Regions from separate parts of the Homo sapiens genome. Here region 2 is linked to region 1. Evidence: promoter capture Hi-C in 16 types of primary human blood cells and fetal thymus (Javierre and others, 2016). All regions are on one chromosome and are shown on one strand. Each heading gives the region's core, a stretch centred on a gene start or on the middle of the fragment in contact. The rest is flanking DNA. Distances are from core to core; before and after follow the strand shown. Region 1 holds the start of KLK11 (kallikrein related peptidase 11). Region 2 overlaps MYH14 (myosin heavy chain 14).

The links. Contacts are between HindIII fragments. The CHiCAGO score rates a contact against its expected background, and 5 or more counts as called.
Region 2: a fragment that was not itself captured here is called in contact with the fragment with the promoter of KLK11 in region 1 in 1 of 17 cell types (activated CD4 T cells); the score reaches 5.8 in activated CD4 T cells.

The regions. Positions count from the first base shown.
Region 1 is chr19:51,025,002-51,031,206 of GRCh38, forward strand. It overlaps KLK11 (kallikrein related peptidase 11), which reads right to left and starts at 1,615. Exons shown (of 6, transcript NM_001136032.3): 1 at 1,537-1,615; 2 at 591-665. The coding sequence starts at 630. KLK12 (kallikrein related peptidase 12) reads right to left here. Exons shown (of 6, transcript NM_001370125.1): 5 at 5,787-5,920; 6 at 4,093-4,456. The coding sequence ends at 4,301. RefSeq lists enhancers at 694-1,252, 1,253-1,810, 2,370-2,926 and a silencer at 4,959-5,190. The HindIII fragment of the contact is 2,362 bases long and covers 889-3,250 here.
Region 2 is chr19:50,251,767-50,258,680 of GRCh38, forward strand. It overlaps MYH14 (myosin heavy chain 14), which reads left to right. Exons shown (of 43, transcript NM_001145809.2): 16 at 873-987; 17 at 3,454-3,552; 18 at 5,533-5,720. Among named protein-coding and RNA genes, the nearest start is that of MYH14, 52 kb to the left of the region's middle. The HindIII fragment of the contact is 7,915 bases long and covers 1-6,914 here.

The DNA of each region.
Region 1 (6,205 bases), core at 365-2,864:
AATCCCAGCACTTTGAGAGGCTAAGGTGGGAGGATTACTTGAGCCCAGGAGTTCTAGATCAGCCTAGGCAAACATAGTGAGACCTCCTCCCCCATCTCTACAAACAATTAAACAATTAGCCTGGCTTGGTGGCAGGTGCCTGTGGTCCCAGCTACCGGGGAAGCTGAGATGGCTTAAGGATCACTTAAGCCCGGGAAGTCAAGACTGCAGTGAGCCGTGTTGGCACCACGGCACTCCAGCCTGGACAATAGAGCAAGACTTTGTCTCTGGGAAAAAAAAAAAAGGAAATACTTCCATACTGGTTGGTCAGTAGCCCCTGTCCTGGGCGCTTTGAGTGACTGCTCCCCCAACTCCAGCTTCCTCAGCCCCTCCACGGGACCCTTTACGACCCCCTTGACCTCTCCTCCTTTGGCATTTAAAGGGATTATCTAGAAGGGCATCCAGGCCCTCATGACCACTGCTCCAGTTCAGGTGCCTTATGGGTTGTTCTGTAATTTGGAATCAGCCCTGTCACTGTCCAGACACAGAGGGTTAGGGGATCCCAGAGATTCAAGAGGGAGGATCCTGCCCTGCCCCCATCCCCTGCGTACCTGTTGCCAGAGCAAGCAGGATTAACTGCAGAATCCTCATGGCCTGGAGGGGGGAGGAGCGGGCCCCAGGTTCCTCTGGGAACAAGGAGGGACATGGGGCCGCATCACTTTACGGGGAAATCGGGAGGGGGGGGCTGGCTCATGCCCTCTCCTCTCTCCCTCACCTGCTCCCGCTCCCCACTTGGGAGAAACAAGGTTGGGGAAATCCCCTGTTTCTCACAGCACTCAGATCTCCAAACACTTAAAATATATCTTAGGTGTCTAGGGTGGCCTTGGAGAGGGCCTGGTCACAGCTAGAAGCTTCCGAGATACCAAGAACCATGTGGAAGTCGTTGGGAGGGGCTTTGAGCTGTCAAGCCATGGTTCGGCCCTGTTCAAGTCAGCCATGGGACCTCCCCGGCACATGTCAGAGGATGTTTTCCTTCTTGCCTTGAGAGCTGGCCAGGCCCCAGCAGCTTGGGGTGGAAGGACAAGGGGAACCAGACACCGTTCCGTAGCCACCCCTTTTTCATTGTCTTCGCAGCAGAGCGATATGGAGCCTTTGAGGTCTGCTGGAGGGGAGTAGGGGGCTCAGCCCCAGACAATGTCTGGGACCCCCATCACCCGGCTTGCTGAAGCCCTGTCCGCCAAACCCCTGCCCTTTTGAAGGACAGCCAAGCAAAGCTGGGCGGGGCTGGTCGAGGGGAGGGCCAGTGCCCTCCGCTGCCCTGGCCAGCGGGGGTGGGAGCAGAGGGCCAGCTCAGCAGCTGAAGCCATGGAGATTAGAGGTAACTGAGGCTGCGGACAGCCATCGGAGGTGAGAGGTGTAGAGAGAGGCCAGGAACCCCCACCCAAGCAGAGAAGGACAGAGCAGAGGGAGAAATGGGTGCCCGAGTGGGACAGGTGTCCTTGGGGAGGGCTGACACCTGGACGGGGAGGGGCAGCTTCCCTTTCCTCCTGGACTCACAGGCTCTGGGGCTGGGGCTCTGGGGGCCCAGTGGCGGCGGAGACGGCAGTGGCGGCAGCTACAGCAGGTAGGCTGGGTTGGAGCGCCAGGTGCCAGGCACCAGGCAGGCGGGCTGGCAGGGGGGCGGCCCTGGGCGGGCCCAGGATGACTGGCCTCCAAGCCCTGCCTTAATGCCCCGGGGCGGGGTGTGTGTGAGGGCCCTCCCCGGAGGCCTCTGAGGCACTGGCTGCCTGCCTGTGCCACCTCTCCAAGCCCCTCTTCTCCCTGTGTCTCAGCCTCCCTCTGTCTGTCTGTCTGTCTGCAGCCTTCCTTTCCCTGCCCTGAGTCTCTGAATCTGTGTCTCGTTCTATGTGTCATTCCCTGTCATTCAGTAATTCTGACTTTGTGTGATTTTTCTCTTTCTGTCCCTATGTGTCTGTCTGCCTTTCTCTGTCCTCGTCCCTGTCTCCATCTCCACTCTTCTCTCTCTGTCTGGCTCTGTGTGGCCCTTTCTCTAATTCCTTCTATCTTTGTGTCTCTCAGTCAGTCTCTCTGACTGCATCTCTGGCAATTTGTCTTGAAATCCCTCTTCTTCCATCTAATCTCCGTCTCTCTTTTTCCTCCCGTCCCAGCCACTCCCTCTCCACAGCCCCAGCCCAGGTGGGCCCCTGGCCTCCCCTAGGCCGCTCCCTTCTCCTTTGCAAGGAGAGGGGGGGTGTGCTGGGATGTCACACAGGTGGGGCTGCTGCCAGGCACAGGGGCAGGACCGGAGGGTGGGGGAGGCAGGTCAGGGCCTGTGGAAGCCGAGTCCAGGAAAGGGAACAGAGCCCTTGGCTGTGCTCCACCCCAGGGCTCCTCTGGGGCCTCGCTCCTCTGCTGACCCTTCCCCTGCCCGCTTCTCCCTGCCGCCCAGGCAGCCCGAGTCCAGCTGTTCACTTACTGGCTGCTGTGAGACCTCTGCCCGATGACTTCCAGTCCCGCAGCCACCTCAACCTCTGCATCTGCGGAACCCGAGCGCAGATTCCTGCTTCTCCCAGCTTGTTTGTTTTCAGTTAGGTCCCTTCCCTTGGCTTTCCTCCCCTCTCTCCCCTGACCAGGTGTGGAGCAAGGCAGGGGAGGGCCTAGGTTCTGACAGCAGCCAGCCCTGGCCTCAAACCTAGGTGCTTCCTCTTCCTACTACTATGACTACCCTTATGACGTGGGGACAAGGGACTCCACCCCTGCAAGGCTCAGTTTCTTCATCTGAGAGATGGGGGTGACAGACCTGCTTGCAGGGGAGGTTGGGATCAGGCTTCCAGGAGGGTCCACTTGGAAAGAGCAGACTGCGGGGGGGCTCAGCAAATGTGCCTCCGCTGGTATGATCACCCCTCACTCCCTCCCTCCTCCAGTTTCCCTTCAGTGCATTTGGGGAGATGGTCTCTCCTCACCTCTTGAGTCCCAGTGGAGACAGAATCCAAGGGGTGGGCAGGAGGATTAAAGACGTAGGCTGAGCTCTCCTGCTTTCCAAGCCTGCACTCCACCCTTCGTCTTATTAGAACAAAGCCACGTCCCACATTAAAGATACAATGTATGCTTCATTACAAGAAAGTAAACTGCAGTTGGCTAGTGGAAAGAATGCTACGTTTTATGGACATTGGATTAAATGGTCATAAATGTTGACTTTGCAGCTTTCATCTGGTATTTTGGAGCTAACAATTTTCTTTTTCTTTTTCGGGTCTTTTGTGGACTCTTGAAAAGCTTATAAGCTCTGGGCACTATTTCTATTATGCCAGATGAAGAAACATGTGTCTTATTTATATTGCTGGGTTTTTGTTTTTGAGACAAGGTCTCACTTTATTGCCCAGGCTGGAGTGCAGTGGCATGATCTCGGCTCTTTGCAGCCTCCACCTCCCCGGCTCGGGTGATCCTCCCACCTCAGCTTCCCAAGTAGCTGGGACTACAGGCACGCACCACCACACCCAGCTAATTTTTTGTGTTTTTGTAGTGACAAGATTTCACTGTGTTGCCAGGCTGATCTCGAAATCTGAGCTCAAGCCATCCTCCCACCTCGGCCTCCCAAAGTGCTGGGATTACAGGCGTGGGCCACTGCACCCGGCCTATATTATTAAAAGTAACTTTTTCTACTCCATTTCTGAGTAACTACTCAGGGAAGACCCTCATCCTATTTGAGCACTGGGTTTTTTGTTTGTTTGTTTTTGAGATGGAGTCTCGCTCTGTCGCCCAGGCTGGAGTGTAATGGTTCAATCTCGGCTCGCTGCAGCCTCTGCCTCACGGGTTCATGCTATTCTCCTGTCTCAGCCTCCTGAGTAGCTGGGATTACAGGCATGCGCCACCATGCCTGGCTAATTTTTGCATTTTTAGTAGAGTTGGGGTTTCACTATGTTGACCAGGCTGGTCCCGAGTTCCTGACCTCAGGTGATCCACCTGCCTCAGCTTCCCAAAGTGATGGGATTACAGGTGTGAGCCACTGTGCCTGGCCTTATTTGAGCTCTGTTTCTACTCCTATGAGATAGGGAAACTGCTGAGTCCTTCTTCCAGTCTCAACCAGCATGAGGACTTCAAATGGACAGACATGGCCCCTCCTTCATTTATATTTATTCCAGACTATTGCACACTTCTCTCACCCCGCTCGTGGGTCTTAGAAGGGCTGGCAGGAGTTAAAGTTCCAAGAAGTTCCCAGGCCAACAAGAGTGGAGCTAGGGGAAGTGATGGAGGAGATATTGGTGCTCTGAGGGCCAGAGGGGTACCCAAGTTAAGGGGTGGGGGTGGAGGTGGAGGAAACAGGTCAGTTGTTCCTCATGATCATCCGGATCCAGTCCACATACTTGCAAATATAGGTGTAGACTCCAGGGATGCCATCTTGTCCACAGGGCCCCACAGACCCCCAGGACACCAGACCTTGAAGGACTCCCCCACACACCAGGGGGCCCCCAGAATCACCCTGGAAGGGAAGAGAAGTACTGTCTGAACAAGGGAGACATCTTATTTCTGTTTTCCTCCCCAACCCTTCAACCCAGTCCTGGGCCTTGGGGAGGGCTCCAAGTCTGGTCATTAGACAAAAGAGTATAATCACTTTCCCGGAGGACAATGGCAATGGCTAACCAAAAGAGAAGAACCACTGTCTCTAGGGGCCAATCCCAGGGAAGAAGGGTGGAACTCCATAAAGGACAGAGGTTCTCTCAAGGACAATGGCTGGGGCCCTGACCAATGAGGAGAGAGAGCACAGTCATTAATGACCAATCTCAGGGGAGGCTGTCAAGACAACATAAAGAGTCGAGCATTCTCTCAAGGACAATGGCTGGGGCCCTGACCAATGAGGAGAGAGAACACTATTATCAATGACCAATCCCAGGGGAGGAGGGTGGGACTCCATAAAGGATAGAGGTTCTCTCAAGGACAATGCCTGGGGTTCTGACCAATGAGGGGAGAGAGTGCCATCAAAAATGACCAATCCCAGGGAAGGTGGGCAGGACTCCATCAAAAGCACAGAGTTCTCTCAAGGACAATGGCTGGGGCCCTGACCAATGAGGGGAGAGACCGCCATCCTCAAATCTCTCTCAGTCTGGGACAGCACCAACTGGAGGATGGTATGGGAAAGACTTAGAGCCCCAGAAACAGCTGGTTCCCTGTCTGGGCTCCCAGTCCTCTCCGTCTGTTTTGCTGTCTCTCTCTGTAACCCCTGCCCCATCTTTCCTTCTCTGTTCCCTTCCTCCCTCTCTCTCCCTGCCCCTCCCCCTCCTCCATTCCCCGGTCCTCCCTTTTACTCCCTGTCTCTCTCCCTCCCTTATCCTGGGCCTCTCCTCCATTATTATTATTATTATTATTATTATTATTATTAATTATTTTGTTTTGAGACAGAGTCTGGCTCTGTCGCCCAGGCTGGAGTGCAGTGGCGTGATCTCAGCTCACTGCAACCTCCGCCTCCCGGGATCAAGCGATTCTCCTGCCTCAGCCTTCCAAGTAGCTGGGGCCACAGGCTTGCACCACCACCCCCGGCTAATTCTGGTATTTTTAGTAGATTCAGAGTCTCACCGTGTTGGCCAGGCTTGTCTTGAACTCCTGACCTCAAGTGATCCGCCCGCCTCGGCCTCCCAAAGTGCTGGGATTACAGGTGTGAGCCTCCGTAACCAGCCTCTCCCTTCCTTTTTGACCCCGTCTCTCTGCAGCATCCCCTTTCCCTGATTCATCCTCCATCAGTTCCCCTCCTGCTTCCAGCCCCTCCCCTTCACTTCCTGTCCTGGTGACCACGCACGCTGCCTGCACTGGCTCACCTGGCAGGCATCCTGCCCCGGGACGCCGCCTGCACACACCATGTTGCTCGTGATTCTCCCGGGATACACACCATGGCAGGTGGCATGGGAGACGATGGAGAGGTTGAGGCACTGGAGCAGATCCGGGAATGGGTCTGGAGAGAGAACATGCGTGCTGCAGGGTCCCCTAAATCTCCCCACTTTGAGGCCACGTCCCTCTTCCCTGGATGTGGCCCATCCATGTCAATACCCCTGCCCCTCACCGACCTGTACTACAATCCCGAAACCTCCAAGTTACATATTTATGACTTAATTTCATATGAATCATGACCCCAGATGATTGACGGTCTCTTTGATCTTTGACATTTGACTTTGAGTGGCATAACTCAAGAACTTTCTTGTCTCTCCAGCGTCAGAGACAACGAATCCAGACCTGACCC
Region 2 (6,914 bases), core at 2,104-4,603, 770 kb before region 1:
AGGGTTTCACCATGTTGGCCAGGCTGCTCTCGAACTCCTGACCTCAGTTGATCCACCCGCATAGGCCTCCCAAAGTGCTGGGATTACAGGTGTGAGCCACCGCGCCCAGCCCTATTCCAGTGAAAGTATTTGCAAAAAGAGGTGGCAGGCTGGATTTTGCCTGTGAGCCATAGTTTGCTGACCCCTGGTTTTGATGATGTGGACCAGGCAGCCCCAGAGGATGGGTGAAGGGTGGGAAGGGCTCTCCAGGCAGAGGGAACAGCATAGACAATGGCTGGGAGGCAGGAGATTCCATGTGTTCTGTGTCTAGCCCTCAGTTTCTTCCCCAGACATACTCCAGAACTCCCCCTGTACCCAGCCCTCTGCTAGGCCGTGAGTCAGACCTGGGCCCTGCCCTCGGGGGACCGCTGTCTGGTGGGGGGCACATATGCAGAGAATTGTAGCGGCCAAGATCGTGACTCTATGGAGCCCCACAGCAAAGCCCTGAGTACCCAGAAGGAGCCAGTGGTGTGAAACCCACAGAGACAGAACCCCAGGTGGCAGGAACCGCAGGGGTAAAACCCCGAGGTGGGAGTAAGCTCGCATGTTTGAGGAACAGTGCGGAGGCCAGGGTGGCTGGAGCGGAATGAATAGGAAGAAAGTGGTGGTGGTGGAGGTCACAGAGGTGGCAGGGGGCATAGAGGGGAAGGAGAGAGAGGGGACCATGCTGGTGGGGTGCAGTTCAGAATATGGACACAAGGTGGCACCAGTGCTCGCTTGTCCATGGTGAGCTCCAGACCTGGGAGTCTCAGAGCTTCTGGAAGGCTCCTTAGGAAATCCAGAGAATGTCTGAGCCTGCAAGTCATCGCCCTCCTCTACCTGACTTCATTCAGGTCGACTACAAGGCCAACGAGTGGCTGATGAAAAACATGGACCCTCTGAATGACAACGTCGCAGCCTTGCTCCACCAGAGCACAGACCGGCTGACGGCAGAGATCTGGAAAGACGGTGAGGACCCACTTCCCCCACCCCGGCTCTAGGGGTCTGTGCGGCCATTCTCCAAATCCACAGCGTGAGCACCTTTGTTTCAGAGGCGGAGGTCTGAACCTGAGTTTTCTGCTCAGACCCAGAATAGCCAGTGTCACAAATAGTATTTCAAATCAGTGATGGATGGATCCATAGATTAATTGATTGACTATTGATTTGATTGATAAGCCAGCATCCTTCTCAAGGATAAAGCACTCCGCCTTAATCAGAAACGTGGCAAAGATACCCACTAACACTACTGTTAAACATCGTTTTTTTAGCAATACTAGCCTATGCAATCAGACCAGAAAAAGTATGAATATCGAACAGGAAGAAGTAAACTTATTATTTTTAGATGGCCTGTGTTCCCTAAACAATTAGGAGATTTGGCTGGGCATGGTGGCTCACACCTGTAATCCCAGCACTTTTGGGAGGCCAAGGTGGGCGGATCACTTGAGGTCAGGAGTTCAAGACCAGCCTGGCCAACATGGTGAAACCCTGTCTCTACTAAAAGTACAACAATTAGCCAGATGTCCTGGTGCATGCCTGTAGTCTCAGCTACTAGGGAGGCTGAGGCAGGAGAATCGCTTGAATCTGGGAGGTAGAGGTTTCAGTGAGCCAAGATTGTGTCACTGCAATCCAGCCTGGGTGACAGTGTGAGACTCTGTCCCAAAAAAAAAAAAAAAATTCTACTGAGAAATAATTTATAACAATAAGAGAACACAGAATGATGATCTTTTGCAGGTCAGTCAACTTTTAGGCTTTGCTTTCTTTGTTTTCTTACAAAGTTCCCTTCACGCCCCCAGGGAAGAAGAAAGAAAAAACAGACTGAGATACAGTTTTGGAGGGCTTTCCTGCCCCCAAAAGGCCCCCATGAGTGTGACTGTCTTTTTGGATTGACACTTCTAGGGGTCATAGGCAGAGATGCCAAATGCCCTGTGGTAGGACTCTGACCTTTTCCAAGCCTTTTCTGCCACTGCCCCTGCCCCCCCATCCTTAGAGGAGGTTTGAGAAATGGTTTTAGAAAGCTGGCAGAACTGGCATCCTGTTTTTTCCAGGTTCCAAGTTTCTGGCATTTGTCAGTTTGCCTTAATCTTTTATTGACATGAAAAGGTAGCTGTAGAAATACCAGTCCATGCAATTTGGCAAGAAAACAAAATGAGCGGCCAGGCGCGGTGGCTCACGCCTGTAATCCCAGCACTTTGGGAGGCCAAGGTGGACGGGTCACCTGAGGTCGGGAGTTTGAGACCAGCCTGACCAACATGGAGAAACCTCATCTCTACTAAAAATACAAAATTAGCTGGGCGTGGTGGCACATGCCTGTAATCCCAGCTACTCGGGGGGCTGAGGCAGGGGAATCGCTTGAACCCGGGAGGTGGAGGTTGTGGTGAGCCGAGATCGTGCCATTGCACTCCAGCCTGGGCAACAAGAGTGAAACTCTGTCTCAAAAAAAAAAAAAAAGGAAAAAAAAAGAAAACAAAATGAGCAAGGTGAGTGGTTCCCAAAACACACTCACAGAGCAAAACAGCATGGAGGGTCTTGATCTTGTGAGCTCATGCTAGAAAGATAGATTTTATTTTTATGTCTCATATAGTATTTACACAAGGAGATTGGAAAGCAGAGTTTGATGTTCAGGAACAGAACCAGATTATGCTACGAGAATCATCTCCCGGCTGAAAATCTGCTGCCCTTTTAAAATATTTGTGCTGTCTTCATAAACACATGATTCTCCACAGTGAGCCCTCATTTGTCACACTCTGTGTGTGCCTGACTCTCAGAGGGTTCCAAAAGAAAAAGTGGAAGCTGCAAAACCTCCTGGCTCAGCCTCCCGAGTAGCTGGGGAGCTGCCATAATGTCACTTCCTCCATAATCCTCCTAAACAAAGCTAGTCACAAGGTCTTCCCAGATTCAAGGAGCTGCAAGACACAGGCAAAGGGTGTCAATACAGGGGAAAGTGGGGAATCGGGGCCATTTTTGCCCAATCTCTGCTAGAGCTGCTTTGAGCCCAGAATTGGATGCCCAGCATCCTGACAGCCCAGGGAAAAACGGAAATGAGATTAGCTCTCCTCTGAGAGGCAAAAACAACAAGTGGCCTGGGAGCATCAAGTTCATTCTTGAGCTTCCTGGCAGCCAGAGCAAAAAGGGCAACCTACTAAAACAGACACAACCTCTAGAGGGAGAGATTTTTTATTCTTTGCACTGAATTCTTACAGAGGACATTCGTCCTTTTGGCCAACAGTGTGTGGATACAAAGATGAACAGGAGTTCAGAAGTTTATGGCCAACATTCTGGTTTTCCATCTTGCTTTGCTCTGTACTGTTGACTAATAACCCTCTCCTCTTTTTCTTCCTGCCACCTCCTCTCCTTCCCCTCTTTTCATGCATCTCTCTCCGCCATCTCTCTGCCATCTCCCCTCCACCCACCCACACATCTGTCCTCACTCCCCAGAACATGGGGGCTTCCAGCAGTTCTCTTTCCTTGGCTCCTTCCCACCGTCGCCCCCAGGATCTGCAGAGAGGTGCAGCTCTGCTATTTCTCCGCCAGGGGGTGGGTGTCTCTGTGCATCGATGGGTGAGGCTTGCTGGAGGAGGAGGGTGGACCTGTTGGGCTGGGGACCTGGTTTTGAACATCTGTCCCCTCTCCTCTTACTGTGGAGGTCTCTCACTCTTCCTTTCCCTCCTTGTTGGCTCCCTTGGAAGTTTCCAGACTCTGTAGCAGCAGAACCCCTTCTTCTAACTAAACTGCATGTAAAAGTACAAACAAGCGTGATAGTACCAGCTCGCGTTTCTTGAGCACTTACTATGTGCCGTTCACCATGTGAAACCCCTTTAGAATTATCAACACCCCATTACACAAATGAGGAAACTAAAGCACAGAGAAGTTAAGTAACTTGCTGAGGTCACACAGCCAGTAAGTGGCAGAGCTGGGATTTGAACCCAGGACATCAGATTCCAGAACTTTAGTTCTTATCTGTGCTATGAGGACTTAATAAATGATAATTATCATTTTGAAAATGACAGGGAGTACGGGGTAGGGGAGACGGTTGAACCTGGGGAAGAAAATAACATATTTGAGCCCCTGCCATGACCTGGCCCTGCCCTAAGCACAGATTATCTAGTTGACGGTTGATGGCGCTTGAATGGGATGAGTTTTGCAGGACATCAGATTCTGCCCTAGCTGTGGGTTCCTGAGGAACCTGGCATGATTCAACACATAGAATTTGGGACCAGGTGCATTGGCTCACCCCTATAATCCCAGCGCTTTGGGAGGCCGAGGTGAGAGGATCACTTGAGGACAAGAGTTTGAGATTAGCCTGAGCAACACAGGAAGACCCCGTCTCTACAAAATAAATTTAAAAATTGGTGGGCATGGTGGTGTGCGCCTGTAGTCCAAACTACTTGGGAGGCTGAGGTAGGAAGATCACTTGAGCCTAGGAGGTTGAGGCTGCAGTGAGCTGTGATCACTCCACTGTACTCCAGCCTGGGTGACAGTGAGACTGTGTCTCAGAAAACAAACAAACAACAGAATTCGAGACAGTGCCAATAGAAGGAATGGATATTTTTCACTACCCAAAGCAGCACCGCCAAGCGGCACTAGAGAAAATAGAATCTTTTTGTTGAGACAGAGTCTAGCTCTGTTGCTCAGGCTGGAGTGCAGTGACACAATCTTGGCTCACGGCAACCTCTGCCTCCCAGGTTCAAGTAATTCTCCTGCCTCAGCCTTCCAAGTAGCTGGGATTACAGGCATGTGCCACCACACCTGGCTTAATTTTTTGTATTTTTAGTAGAGATGGGGTTTCACCATGTTGGCCAGGCTGGCCTCGAACTCCTGACCTTAGGTGATCCACCCGCCTTGGCCTCCCAAAGTGCTGAGATTACAGGCATGAGCCACCGCACCCTGCCAAGAAAATAGAACCTCTATGAAATTAGGCTCTTCTGGAAAAATGGTTAAAATAGAGACAGTTTGCCCTATTTCAAATATTGCATATAATGCAAGAATTTATTACATCTTTTAATATGTTTCAGATTCCTAAAATGCAACTGCAGTGGTTATGTTATCACTGTTTTCTCTCTCTATGCCTCAGTTTCCAAATCTGTAAAATGGGAATGATTCTTACAGGCTTATAAAGCCATTGATGTAAATTGCTTTGAGCAATGCCTGCCAGAGTATCTATGCTAGGTAAGCATTTGCTGTTATTGTCATCATTTATTGATAAGGAAAACAGAGATCATGTCCTTGAAGAGAAGAAGGGTCAAAGACCAGAGTTTGAGAGGACTCCTACTGTCTGAGTTCTAATCTCGGATCTTCAGTTTCTAAGCTGTGTGACCTTAAGCACATTCTCCCACTCTTCAGAGCCTCAGTATGTCCATCTGTCCAATGAAGCTGATATCTACCTTACAGGCTGTGTGAGGTCCTTCATATGTAAAGTGCCAGTTGTGATAAATGATAAGACCCTTGACCTTTGGCCCAGGTCCCTAAAACTGACCCTGACCTCCTTCTCTCTCTCTCTGCATCTCCATCTGACAGTGGAGGGCATCGTGGGGCTGGAACAGGTGAGCAGCCTGGGCGACGGCCCACCAGGTGGCCGCCCCCGTCGGGGTATGTTCCGGACAGTGGGACAGCTCTACAAGGAGTCCCTGAGCCGCCTCATGGCCACACTCAGCAACACCAACCCCAGTTTTGTCCGCTGCATTGTCCCCAACCACGAGAAGAGGGTGAGTGACTCAGCCTGGGGAGGAAGGGGTGGCTGTGGCTGTGGGTTAAGGTTTGGCCTCTGGACTTGGCTGGAGCCACATCTGATTCGAGGACCCTCAAATTAGCTGTGTGGCTTTGAGCAAATTGCTTCTATTCCTAGGCTCAGGGTCCGGTTGGGAAAATTCATGCATTCATATGACTTAATGTATTAAGCATCTACTGTGCTGGGAACAGGTACTGGGGAGGCATTGGAGAGAAAGGCACAGCCAACTCCTGTTCTCAGGGAGCTCACAGTCTGATGGGGAGCATAGACATTCATCTAACCATCCAAAATGAACGTCCAGTTAAATCTGTAGGGGTGGTGAGTATCACACAGGGCTTGATCTGGTCAGTGAAGTTAGGGAAGGTTCCCTGGGGGACGTGATGACTGAGCCCTGAAGGATACGTGATATTCCAGGCAGAGAAGAGTTTGTACAAAGGCCCAATGGTAGGTTGGAGCACGCGAGGTACAAGGGATAGAGGAAGGCCATCAGGGCTGGGCTTGTTGCATGGGTGTGACAAGACCATGGCCAGCCTCACTGGCCACTGATTTTCATGTTGAGAAAATCAGAGAATGGGCCCTACAGAGAAGGGTCAATGGGAATGGAAAACAACATGTTTGCCATGTTGCCCAGGCTGCTCTCGAACTCCTGAGCTCAAGCGATCCACCCGCCTTGGCCTCCCAAAGTGCTGGGATTACAGGCGTGAGCCACCACGCCCAGCCTGAGATCCCATATTTTATCAAATCTAAGCCATGTATTCCTCCCCACTAGCGTCTCTGAAGTCGAGATGTAGCTTAGTCAACGGCCTGTCAGGGTTTAATTACCAGTCTTTTTCCTTTCTTGGTGGCATATTTAACGACAGCGTGTGCCACTGGAATTTTTGTACTGTTTAGATTTTTGCCATTTGTGCATTACTGTTGAAAAGAGAAAAGGCGGCCTGGCACGGTGGCTCATGCCTGTAATCCCAGCACTTTGGGAGGCTGAGGTGGGAGGACTGCTTGAGCCCAGGAGTTCAAGACCAGCCTGGGCAATGGCGAAACGCCGTCTCTACTCAAAATACAAAAATTAGCTGGGCATAGTGGTGTGCACCTATAATCCCAGCTACTCAGGAGGCTGAGGCAGGAGAAGCTCTTGAACCTGGGAGGCGGAGGTTGCAGTGAGCTGAGATCATGC